3 separate regions of the Homo sapiens genome follow, and regions 1 and 3 are each linked to region 2. The links are contacts of gene promoters, found by promoter capture Hi-C in blood cells and fetal thymus (Javierre and others, 2016). All regions are on one chromosome and are shown on one strand. The core of a region is centred on a gene start or on the middle of the fragment in contact, and the rest is flanking DNA. Distances in the headings are between cores, read along the strand shown. Region 1 overlaps CUL5 (cullin 5). Region 2 holds the start of EXPH5 (exophilin 5). Region 3 overlaps CUL5 (cullin 5).

Region 1 (4,353 bases), core at 43-2,542, 530 kb before region 2:
AAAAAAAAAACCAGAGTATCATTATTTCATACCCCTGATTTTTAAGACCCTTCATAATTTGACCCTAACCTATTTTTCTAACTTAATATTGTCCAGCAAGAGTCACTCTACTCCAATAAGAAATATTTTTTTATTCATACAACTCACTCTGTTACTTTTTTTTTTGGATTCATTTTAGCAGTGTTTTCTTCTGCCTACCCAAAATCTTGCAAGGATTCTTTTAACTCACCTTGTAATAAAATTGTAATAAAGTAGCTCAGATCATCTAGCCTTCATCAGTTTCTTCCTATTTGAATTCCCGTGGTAACTATTGTTTCTACCACTAGGTTTAGGAGCAAATTATAGACTGCCTTGTATTTCTTATCAAGCACCAGCTGTGTGCCAGGACACAGCACAGTCTTTATAGCTGTGGACAGAGCACAATCTTTGTCCTTAAGTTTATAGTATAGTAATGATGCATTTTCCAGTTATTTGCTTATTAGTGAAGATCTTCTTTTCATACACATCTGTACATATGAACCATACACATGTTTTTAGGTATATAGTTTATGGGTTTCCAACTGGATTGTAAGATCATTGAGGGCATGAACCATGTTTATACTTCTCTATTCCTTAAAACACGTAACTCAGTTCTGAGCATGTAGCCATCACTAAGTATGTACATGCTCTACTTCTGTAGTAAGAAAAGTTGGAGGCTATGGAGATACATACCTGGCCTCAAATTATAACTCAAGACCTTATGAACCAACTGTGCAACATTTGGAAGTTATGTGGCTACTCTCAGTCTATGTCCTCATAAAGTAAGTATCTGCCTCATGAGGTTGCCATGTGGGTTAAATGAGATCTATATGTAAAGCATTTAGCATAATGCCTGGTACAAAGTAAGTGCCCATTAAAGGATACCTGTTATAATAATTTGTTTAACCTCTCAAGCTAGAAATGGATTCAACATCCTTTTATTTCCCTAATCCCTTTCATTTAAGCATTTACCAAATTCTTCTCAGTTTACTTTAATTATGTTGTCAATTTAGCTCTCCTTTTAATCCTCGTTGTAACCCACCATAAGAAATACATTTTATATTGTGGCTTAGAATATACTGTTTATTTGTACATATCTGAAACAAAAGTCTTATGAAATAATATTCATTGTTACAATATGTGATACACTCTGATATTTTTTGTTCTGTCCTATGTACATTTTTTTTTTTTTTAAACCTGGTCACAGCCATTAAAACTGATTTCACAACATACAGTCTGAAACACACTGGTCTGGATTTTTAGAATCTGCAAAATTTCAACTACCACTGAACAGGATAATGTTCAAGTGAAAGTTTTCAATGAAATAGAAAACACAGAGCTTAGAGTTTATTAGGATTCCACTTTGTCTTTGTTCTCTATTAGTTATATATTGTTAGATTTACCTATGCTCAATCTGGTTTCACTGCTTAAGGTGGAAGTGTTTAGTTGGGCCTATTCCAGTGATGTTATAGAATAAGATTACTCAGCAGTTGGGGCAGAGATTTCCACCTTGCAAGGAAAGAGTTTCTTAACCATTTTATATGTGTAGTCTTTTCTTTATTTTTCTTTTTTTTTTCCTTTTTTGAGACGGAGTTTTGCTCTTGTTGCCCAGGCTGGAGTGCAATGGCACGATCTCGGCTCACTGCAATCTCTGCCTCCCAGGTTTAAGCAATTCTCCTGCCTCAGCCTCCCGAGTAGCTGGGATTACAGGCACCCACCATGCCCGGCTAATTTTTAGTAGAGATGGGGTTTCTCTGTGTTGGTCAGGCTGGTCTTGAACTCCTGACCTCAGGTGATCCGCCCGCCTTAGCCTCCCAAAGTGCTGGGATTATAGGCTATGAGCCACCACGCCCAGCCATGTGTATTATTTTCTTAGGACAGAAATATACATGGATATATGCATTTAAAAGTCATCAGCATCATTCTTGTAGAGGAGCCTGAAAAAACCTTTTTTTTTGTTTTGTTTTGTTTTGTTTTGTGACAGTCTTGCTCTGTCGCCCAGACTACACTGCAGTGACATGATCAAGGCTTACTGCAGCCTTGACCTCCTGAGCTTAACTGACCCTCCCACCTCAGCCCCCCAACTCGCAGGGACCACAGAAAATTCTTTATTCGGAAAATTTTAAGCATTTTTACAATGTAGGAAGAACAGTATAATGAATCCCCATTACCTAAATTCAGCTTTAGTAGTTACCAACATTATGTCAATTCCAAAGGAATTTTTAATAAAAAATTTTTAAGGGACACATAATTGCCTCCCTTAATTTACAGATAGATGATTTGTTTTTCAGAAGAAATATATCAGCCTTATTGTACTTAACTTTAGTCCTCACAACCTATTAATTTCATCTGATCCCCAAAAGAGAAGTAAATAATTACATGACACGAGGGAGCAGAGATGACATGATATCTTCTGCCTCATTTAGATTTTCCTGATGGCCTCCTAGAGCACTAGACCCTTGCTATCTTACCTGAAATAGTTCAACAGCCTCGTTACCATATCCCAACCACCCACTCCTTACCACCTGCCTTACTACCATTATACTGATCTTTAATAATGACTTGAGGAGAGGAGAATCTCATTACATTTATCCTCTGTTTAAAACTTCCTTGGGGCCAGGCCTGATGGTTCACACCTGTAATCCCACACTTTGGGAGACTGACAGGGGGATCATGTGAGACCAGGAGTTTGTGACCAGCCTGGGGAACATAGCAAGACATCATCTCTACAGAAAAGTTTAAAAAATTAACCAGACTTGATAGTACATCCCTGTAGTCCTAGCTACTCAAGAGGCTGAGGCAGGAGGATCACTTGAGCCTAGGAGTTCAAGGCTGTAGTGAGGTATGATAGTAGCTATGTAGTAATGCCACTGTACTCCAGCTTGGGCAGCAGAGCAAGACTCTGTCTCTTAAACAAACAAAAAAACCTTCCTTTGTTCTTCCTTCCCTACCTATGAAATAAAACCCCAAATCATAGATTTTCATTCATAATCTGGTTGCAGCCTATCTTTCTAGCCTTCTCTTCCACTGTCTGTTTCTTCTCTACCATTTTAAGCTTCCTGGTATTCCTAGAATACGTAACCTATTTTAGGGCTTGTACTTACTTTACAGGATCCCATTTAGATACCAACTTGTGGATGAGGCCATTTTAACTACCCTAGAAAAAAGTAGTTTCTAAGTTTTTTTTTATTTTGTGTGTGTTTGTGTATGTGTGTGATGCCACTTAACTGAGTTATATTTAGTTAGCAGTGTAGGTTTACTGCCCTCCTCACTCTCAATTAGACAGTGATCTCTTCGAGAGCAGGAATTATATCTTATTCTTGTCTCTTAAATACTTCCTTAGTGCCTGCACGTAGTAGGCATCCAATAATGGTTTGTTGAATGAATGTATTCACACTTCTAGAATTTTATAACCTAATTTTAAAACAGGTTCTCTCCAGACAGGAAGAGTTAATCAAAGTTTGGTTTTGTATATTTTTCTCTCCCCTCCTTGAGGACTTTTGTTAAAATTTCTAAAGAGAGTCTAGTTCTATAGTTTTTTTCCTTAGGGGAAAATACACTTTGGTAAACTAGTATAGCATATCCATCTTCAATAATCCTATAGTTAAGGTAAGTGAAATCTACTTTCAGTATAATTTTTTTTTTGTTGAACAATATTGTTTTATTTTGTGAGTTAGAATAGATTTGTGCTATACAGCTTATAGTAGCCTTGACTAATTTTTGATATATTTCAGCTCATGGAATGCTGTGTAAATGCCCTGGTGACATCATTTAAAGAGACTATCTTAGCTGAGTGCCAAGGCATGATCAAGAGAAATGAAACTGAAAGTAGGTAAAACATCACATAAAGTTATCATAATCTTCTAAGAGGGTATCTTTGAAACAAATCACTTACTAAGTTGCTCTTAGTTAATTCTTTTCCACATAGGTATATGTGGAACTGTTAGAGTGAACTATACTTAAGGAAATAGATAAAATATTTAACACAGAGGCACTGCTAAGAGTATATAAACTTAAATTTTAAGCATTTTCCCTCTTAGCTATCAACATCTGTGTATGTGTATGGTGAATTTCTACTTTTTTCTCAAAAGCAAGACACTGCTTTTAAAGGCCAGTTTAAACTGGAAACATATGTTATAGATTAGAACCAGGTATTTGACTTTTGTGTGGAACCTTGTGATGAATCTTTTTAGAATGTAATAAAACACTCCCTGTTAATAGTCATCTCTGTCCCCCAAAATACTTTATAAGATTTCTAAAGGATTTTTTTATTACTTCAATGTTTTCTTAAAAAGATGTGTTTTGAGAGGTAGCAAGTATATAACAAACTAAAAA
Region 2 (4,292 bases), core at 1,086-3,585:
TGGAAGTGGGGAATTAATCAAAGGAAAAGACAGTACTAGAAATCATTGCCTTGGGTATTTGGTCCACACATCTACTTTCCTTAAATGATTTTTGTATTTTAATGGTGATATTTTTCAAATTGTTTGGGCAATTAAATACTTTTAATAATTAGTATAATACAGTATCGATTTTGTCTTAGCATTATGGCTTTTTCTGTTGATGCTTCCATTAGAATATGAGTGCCATGAAATTAGAAAATGTGTTTTGACCTTCCTTCTAATGCCCAGCCCAATGGCTTTGTGTAGATACACGTGCTTTGTGTAGATCTATGTGGAGATCCAGTTCCCTCTAAAGTCAACTGCAGTGGGCATCGTGAGTTGCAATAGAGAAAACACAATAAGGCAAGCAAGCATCAGGTCAAAAATAAAAAGTCAAGATAACATCTTAAATGAAAGCTTCTCTCCTTGTTATTTTCTAACTCTCCCCTCAATTTCCCCAAATATACAATGGATCACTTAAGAAGCCCCATCCTCTTCAGAGACAAGAAACATTTCCAATAACACACACTGAGAATAACCGCAGTTTCTTAGTGCCTTTGGAATATGCACTGAAATTCCGTGCAGTTCTGAAATTCTTCTTCTGAAAGTTGGGTGTGCCTTGTGCGGTGCATGTGCATATGTGTAGGTACATTATGCACGTGGGTGTGTGTGGGTGTGGCATACTGTTCTCCTGAAGGCACACTTTCTACACTGTTCAGGGGAGGGGAATGATAAAGCCACTTTTTCTCAAGGCAGATGGTATGAAATCCATATTCCCCAACCTCAAATATTCCTTCATCCCTCAAAGAGTCATGTTTAGGGGAGAAGGGTGAAGTCAGGGCATTGGGCTTAGTGTATTCTAATTCTTTCTACAAAGACCAACTAGATTTTCCAATTTGAAGAGGGTCCCTGGAGGGTTTCTTTTGTCGGCGGTGGGGGACAGGCAATTCTAGAAAGAATTGGGAACCTGGAACTCGCATTAGCAAGCAGTTGATCATAAAACAAAATGACTTGCTAAATTCCAATCAATGGCACACAGTGTGGTCTGAGAGTGATGTCCTGAATTCCCTTCCACAGTTATCTAGAGAAGGACTTAGATGGATATATTCCAATATTGGCGAGAGAGTCCCTTTAATTCATTCCAGCACTTATCCCACACTTCCCCAGCAGAAAAACTGGTTAATGTACATCCTGGGTAATTATCTGTGTCTCTGGATTTCATTCTTTAGTAACTAATCCCTCACCTACAACAGTGTATAGTAAGGTCAAGGATGAAATTTCTCAGAAACTCGCTCCCCACAGCACCACGCACAAGAAGACCCACCCATTCCAGCCAACCCCGTGTGTCCAAGTCCCATTCGCCCACATAAGCCTCTATTTGACAAATTCCTCGAGCTCCTACCCTTGGGGTGGGGACCTTTCGCCTCCCGTGAGGTGCCGGCTCTCCCGTGCTTCGCTGACTGCCCGCATTGGGTGGGGAGATTCGCCTCTGGTGCCGAGGGAAAACTGCGTTAGGCGAGGGTGGAAGCTCTGTCGGACCCGTGCGAGCACGTGGGTGCGCGCGGGCCGCGGAGTGAGCAGCAGCCAGGATTCCTCTCCAGATCGCGCCCCCGCCGCATTTCATTGCCTGAAACGGCCCACGCCCCGCGATGGCCCAGCAGACACCCGGCACAGCACAGCGTCACTGCGCGGCCCCCGCAGCGCACGGACCCCCCCACCCTGCCCGACCCCAGACCCGCAGCCGAGCCCGTCTGGTATGTGGTGGGTGGAGAGGGTACCAACTAAGCATCCCAAAGTCCTTCAGGGAGCAACTCCGCGCAGTTTTCTCTTCCCGACCCGCAGCCTCCGCAGCAGCCGCTCGGAGCACCCCCGGGCAGGTGCCCCGCGCGAGCTCAGCGCCTTCCCCGCGGATCCCCGGCCCCTGCGGGACCCAGGCCCAGGACAAAAGAAATGAATTTGCTCTGTACCTGATCCTGTCCTTCTCGGCCCTCTGTAACTCCTCATTCCTTTCCAGCACCTGAAGGATCTTCCTGGCCTCTTCGTCATTTAAGAAACTGAAATCAAACGCCGGAGGAACTTTCGTCATTTTCTTTACTGTGTGTGAGTTACACTTAAGCTCCTTGGCGCCTCCTGTTAGGAAGGCATTTTTCAACCTGTACAAGACCAGTTTCACGAACTTGATCCCACAGCCAATAATAAGTCCGCCCCTTTGAAAGTCTAAAACCACAAACCTAGGGAACGCCCACACCTGAAGGGCTCATATTGACAATACCTTAATGACATGTTTCTCTCAACCTGTCCAACCGAGATGCAAAGTGAACGGCTAAAGGGAGAGAGGGAACCAATCCCGTTCCAAGGGGGCGGGCCCTCCCTTGTCCCCTCCCTCGTCCCCTCCCTCGTCTCGTCCCGTCCCTCGTCCCCTCCCTCGTCCCCTCCGGTCACCCTCCCCGCCCCCTATCTGAGTTGTTAAGCAAACAAGCCTACATAATTCTGCCTCTTAAGTGAGGCAAGGCTAAGTGTTGGCGCCAAAGTATTTGCTTTTGCTGTTGCTGTTTGCTCGCAGAACTTGAGCTTGATTAGTAAAGGAGTGAAAAAGGAGATTCATGACTAATCCTCCCTTTCAATAATTAAGAGCCCATAGAAAATAGAATTGCAAGTAGGGTTTGTAACTGGCAAAAGGGTTACTTATCTGAAAGACCAGGAAGAACTAAACTCAATTACACTACTGACTGTGGATGAACCTGGCTGAAGGGCGGAAATTAGTGTATCCTTGGAAACGAATTATTTGCCAAGCCTCTCATCCCACAGACACCCCCACCTCCACTGTCCCACAAAAGTCATTCTTAGACTTTAGAAACAAACAAACAAACAAACAAAACCGTTTATGGTATTTTAGGAGAAGACAGCCCAGAAGCAAAGGACTGTAGAAAACACCTGTTAGAAGTTTTCTGTAAGATTTTATTATCATCTTAATAAACTCAGAGAAGTAATACACATGCCATTTAAAAATACCTAATCCTCTGGTGAAAGCAAATGGTAATCCTATGAAGCCACAGAAATAGCTTTCCTAGAAAGTCAATTGTTCCACAATGCAATGAAGAATAATAGAAACTTATAAAGATATTCACATATATACTTTTTTTTTAATTATCAAGGCTTTTACAGAAAACATGTTTTTATCTTGGCTTCACTTCCTACCCAAAAATAACTCTGTCAGATTGACTTTCCTGCCCCATAGCCTTAATTTGGTCATTTTGAAGATGGTGGTGATGATTACTAACATATAAAATGTACTTCTACATATATCATTTCTTTTCATGGCACATAAACCCAATTAAAATTTTGTATCTGTACAAGAACATGATATCAAAAATTGCCACTTGTGTTTTGTTCTCTGGGCTACCCCATTTGATCATCATTATTTAAAACATGCCTAGGCAGCTAGCCATTCAGATAACTTTCTGTGGGTGTCTGTTATTTGTGTGAACCAGGAACCAATTTTGTTCACCCATGGTGTACACAATACAGAACTCCTTTATAAATAGTGTCTGTATTAATGATCCTGTTTTGGGAGTATGTCTTGTATATGGTGTCCAGTTTTTCTAGTGTGTTCATTTATTCAGCATACACATGGGACTTTTCAATATGGTCACTGGTGGGATTTTACACTGTTTCCAGTATATCAGTGAACTGATTTCAACCAACGTATCCTGGTGCCTATTACATGAAGGCATCACACACTGTGAACAACACAGTCCTTGTCTTTAGAAAGTTTGTAATCCAGTGGGAGAGATACACAAATAGAAAGATGACTATGTAAAAAAGAACATAATAGAGGAATAAAGAAAATTCCATGAGCACACAGAAAAGTTAGTGCCAACTGAGTGGATGGAGAGAGGATACGGTATTTAGGTTGCTGCATGAAGAGTCAGATTTCAAGAGGAAGAAATAGGGGGTGGTGGGAGGAGATGTGTGAGTCTATTCTAGGCAAGGGGATCAGCGTGCTGAATAGCAGAAGTACAGTCTAGGAATCTTCTCATATTCCCTCAACCTCTTTAATGGCCAGACTGAACAAAAGCTTGGAAGCTAGAAAACACTGGAGCATGTTCATGGATTGTTAAGTGATCTGTTTTGGCAGAGCATGTAGTCTCCACAGGGGTAAAATCTTCCTCTTTTTATGTAGAAAGCACAAATCTACACATGATACACAGATACACAGTATATCTGAAGTATTAACATTGCACAAGGGAGGTGATTGTGAAAAAAGTTCTAAA
Region 3 (4,119 bases), core at 911-3,410, 560 kb before region 2:
CATCAGTGCTTCCTAATCCTACACCCAGTTTTAACCCTTGCCCCTTATAATATATTCTCAACATAGTAATGAGGGAGATTTTAAAATGTAAATAAGATTATGACACTTCAGGCCAGGTGCGGTGGATCACACCTGTAATCACAGCACTTTCGGAGGCCGAAGCGGGCGGATCACAAGGTCACGAGTTAGAGACCAGCCTGGCCGACATGGTGAAACCCCGTCTCTACTAAAATACAAAAATTAGCTGAGCGTGGTGGTGCACACCTGTAATCCCAGCTAGGGCAGGAGAATTGCTTGAACCCAGGAGGCAGAGGTTGCAGTGAGCCGAGATCGCCCCATTGTACTCCAGCCTGGGCAGTAGAGTAAGACTCCATCTCAAAAAAAATAAAAAATAAAAAAGATTATGACACTTCTTGCTCAGAATCTTTTAATGGCTCTTCATCTCACTTATAGTAGAAACCAAAGTCTTTATAATGGCCTTCAGGGTCCTACAAGATCCAGCTCAGTAAGATCCAGTAAGCTAAGTTACTTCTATGACCTTATCTGCTCTCTCCACTTTGTTTACTTTGCTCTACCTTGAATACATTAAGCATGTTTCTATCTTATGTTCTTTGCATTGGCTGCTTTCTCTGCCTAGAATACCCTTTTTCCAGGTATTCCCCCATTGTCAACTCCCTGTTGGCTTCCCCACGGCCCATTTGTGTGAGAAGAAGAGTGCCTGTGAAGGGATTAGTTGTGCTGTAAGGAGTGAAGGATAGAATACCTTTTTCCAGGTATTCCCCCATTGTCAACTCCCTGTTGGCTTCCCCACGGCCCATTTGTGTGAGAAGAAGAGTGCCTGTGAAGGGATTAGTTGTGCTGTAAGGAGTGAAGGATAGAGGGGCAGGAGTATGGCAAATGTTGTAGTTCTCTGAAGAGCCAGTGAATGAGAGAATTGTAGACCTACTAGCAACTGTTGAGTCCAGCTTATTTGCTATTCTGAATAGTAATGAAAGAATTCAAGAGGCTTTGTAGCAAGTTAATAGAGATGAGGCAGCCTTCAGTCAGTCAGTGAAAACGTACATAAATCAAGGTTCATAGTCTGAAGATTCTTTTTCTTATTAATAAGGCATTCTGTTTTGTAGATAGTGGATTTGGTGTCCTGCCACTTAGTTATGATTTAATGATATGCTCTTCAGTTTAATAGAGAATAGGTCAAGGAACTACTTGAGCATCATTTTTGGAATCTATTATAAAAGTTTAATAGAAAACAATTAATTATTAAATTCCTTTTAAAATTGAGTATTAGGGAAACGTGTTTATTATGTGTTCCATCAAAAAGGAGAGCAAAAATATGTTTCCTGGTACTTAACAATGTCTATTAGGAGATTTCAGAGCCTAACCAGTGTTTAATTTATCTCCAGTACCTGTCTACTCTGGTACTCTGCACCTTTTATTTTTAATTGCAGGACTTACACTATATTTAATTTTATAAATTAGCAAAAGTGCTTGTGGAAATAGACTTAATTGAAATTAGAAAGTATCCTCTTGTTAAGAAGGTATTCTTTTTTCCATGTCAGTCAAGAAAAGTGTTCTTTCTATGGTTCTTTCATATTTGTTTATTTGCACACCTCTTCCTCATAGGGAAGAATAAAAGAAGAAAATGAGAGTTACAGGAAAATAATAAAAAGTAGAAAAAGTAATGTGAGGCCAGGCATAAAGTTATTGTACAAAGTATATGCCGCAGCATCACAATTCTGACTCTGAATTTCCCAGTAGCCAACACTAAGAGGAGTGCGAAGTTACTTACGTGATTCATTTAAGTCCATAAGGTAAAAAGAAACTAGTTGTTCAGGAGAGAAGCGTAGCTAATCCCAGTACTAAGTTTTTAGTGGATATCTCCCATGGGTCCTTATGATAAGAATACAGTGGCTGGGTGCGGTGGCTCACGCCTGTAATCCTAGCACTTTGGGAGGCTGACGTGGGCAGATCACCTGAGGTCGGGAGTTTGAGACCAGCCTGATGAACACAGAGAAACCCCGTCTCTACAAAAAATACAAAATTAGCCAGGCTTGGTGGCGCATGCCTTTAATCCCAGTTACTCGGGAAGCTGAGGCAGGAGAATCGCTTGAACCCGGGAGGCGGAGGTTGCGGTGAGCTGAGATCGTGCCACCGCGCTCCAGCTTGGGCAACAAGAGTGAAACTCTGTCTCAAAAACAAAAAGAAAAAAGAATACAGTGTGATAGAAGCAGGCATCTGGAGCAAGACAGTATATTAACTTTTAGGATGAACTATGTTCGTGAATATAAGCAGGATTTATAAGAGTATGATGTTAATTTGTGGTTCTTAACCTAGTTTGGGTCATAGACCATCTAACATTATTTTTATGTAATTTTATCATGAATTTGATAAACATGCAGATTGTGGACTAACTTCAAGAGATTCCGATCCAGTAGGCCTGAGGTAGGTTTTAGGAATCTGTATGTGTAATCACCACCTCAGATGATTTTCACGTAGGTTGTTGTCAGATCATATGTTGACAAACTGTTTCAGTGTTATAATTTCAGGGAGTTTGCATATTCCATACAATCACTGTATGCATCTCAGGTTCTTAACCTGAGCAATATCAACAGATTTGTATAACTGAAAAATAATCATGAGTCTGGGCCTGGTGGCTCATGCCTGTAATTCTAGCACTTTGGAAGGCTGAGGAGGGTGGATCATATGAATCCAGGAGTTCGAGACCAGCCTGGGCAACATGGCGAAACCCCGTCTCTACTGAAAATACAAAAATTAGCCAGGTGTGGTGGTGCGTGTCTAATCTCAGCTACTCGGAGGCTGAGGCATGAAAATCACCTGACCCTGGGAGGTAGAGGCTATAGTGAGCCAAGATTATGCCACTGCACTCCAGCCTGGGCAACAGAACGAGACTCTGTCTCAAAAAAAAAAAAAAAATCATGAGTTTCATAGGGTGTTTGGTGCTGGTGTACTAGAAAGTTAGGTTTTACATTTAAGTCTTTAATCCATCTTGAGTTAATTTTTGCATATGGTATAAGAAAGGGGTCTGGTTTTACTTTTCTGCATATGGCTAGCCAGTTATCCCAGCACCATTTATTGAACAGGGAGTCCTTTCTCTTTTGCTTTTGTCAGGTTTGTTGAAGATCAGATAGTTGTAGGTGTGTGGTCTTATTTCTGGGCTCTATTCTGTTCCATTGGTCTTTGTATATGTTCTTATATCAGTACCATGATGTTTTTTGGTTACTACAGTGCTGTCGTATAAAGACACATGCACACATATGTTCATCACAGCACTGTTCACTCTAACAAAGACGTGAAATCACCCCCAATGCCCATCAATGATAGACTGGATAAAGAAAATGTGGTACATATACACCATGGAATACTATGCAGCCATAAAAAAGAACAAGATCATGTCCTTTGCAGGGACATGGATGGAGCTGGAGGCCATTTTCCTTAGCAAACTAATGCAGGAACAGAAAACCAAATATTGCATGTTCTCACTTATAAGTGGGAGCTAAATGATGAGAACACATGAACACATAAAGGGGAACAACACACACTGGGGCCTACCAGAGGGTGAAGGGTGGGAGGAGGGAGAGGATCAGGAAAAATAACTAATTGCTTAATCCTGGATAATGAAATAATCTGTACAACAAATCCCCATGACACAAGTTTACCTTTGTAACAAACCTGCACATCCTACACATGTACCCCAAACTTAAAAGTTAAAGAAAATCGTGACTTTTGTTGAAATTTACTGGCCAAAACAAACCAGATGGTCCTAGTTCAGTGGCTTACTGCTATAACCTCAGCATTTTGGGAGACTCAGGTGAGTGCATCAGTTGAGCCCAGGAGTTCAAGACCAGCCTGGGAAATATAACAAGACCCCATCTCTACAAAAAAATACAACAATTAGCTGGGCATGGTGGTGCGCACGTGTAGTCCCAGCTACTTGGGAGGATCAGGCAGGAGAATTGCTTGAGCCCAGGGGATCAAGGCTACAGTTAGCTATGATCACTCCACTGCCCTCCAGCCTGGGTGACAGAGCAAGACCCTGTCTTAAAAACAAACAAAAAACAAATCACATGGTCACATTTAACTTGAAAAGGAGTACTAATG

Evidence for each region. The method cuts DNA at HindIII sites, captures the fragments that hold promoters and counts their contacts. A CHiCAGO score of 5 or more calls a contact.
Region 1: a contact is called between a fragment that was not itself captured here and the fragment with the promoter of EXPH5 in region 2, in 4 of 17 cell types (non-activated CD4 T cells, naive CD4 T cells, total CD4 T cells and 1 more). The highest score is 5.6, in non-activated CD4 T cells.
Region 3: a fragment that was not itself captured here is called in contact with the fragment with the promoter of EXPH5 in region 2 in 5 of 17 cell types (naive CD4 T cells, total CD4 T cells, non-activated CD4 T cells and 2 more); the score reaches 6.4 in naive CD4 T cells.

The regions. Positions count from the first base shown.
Region 1 is chr11:108,066,344-108,070,696 of GRCh38, forward strand. It overlaps CUL5 (cullin 5), which reads left to right. Exons shown (of 19, transcript NM_003478.6): 8 at 3,753-3,846. Among named protein-coding and RNA genes, the nearest start is that of ACAT1, 53 kb to the right of the region's middle. The HindIII fragment of the contact is 3,557 bases long and covers 1-3,071 here.
Region 2 is chr11:108,591,433-108,595,724 of GRCh38, forward strand. EXPH5 (exophilin 5) reads right to left here and starts at 2,336. Exons shown (of 6, transcript NM_015065.3): 1 at 1,986-2,336. The coding sequence starts at 2,104. RefSeq lists silencers at 1,813-1,872, 2,153-2,202, 2,223-2,522. The HindIII fragment of the contact is 3,661 bases long and covers 434-4,094 here.
Region 3 is chr11:108,028,447-108,032,565 of GRCh38, forward strand. All of the region lies in intron 1 of CUL5 (cullin 5), which reads left to right. Among named protein-coding and RNA genes, the nearest start is that of CUL5, 22 kb to the left of the region's middle. The HindIII fragment of the contact is 4,756 bases long and covers 1-4,119 here.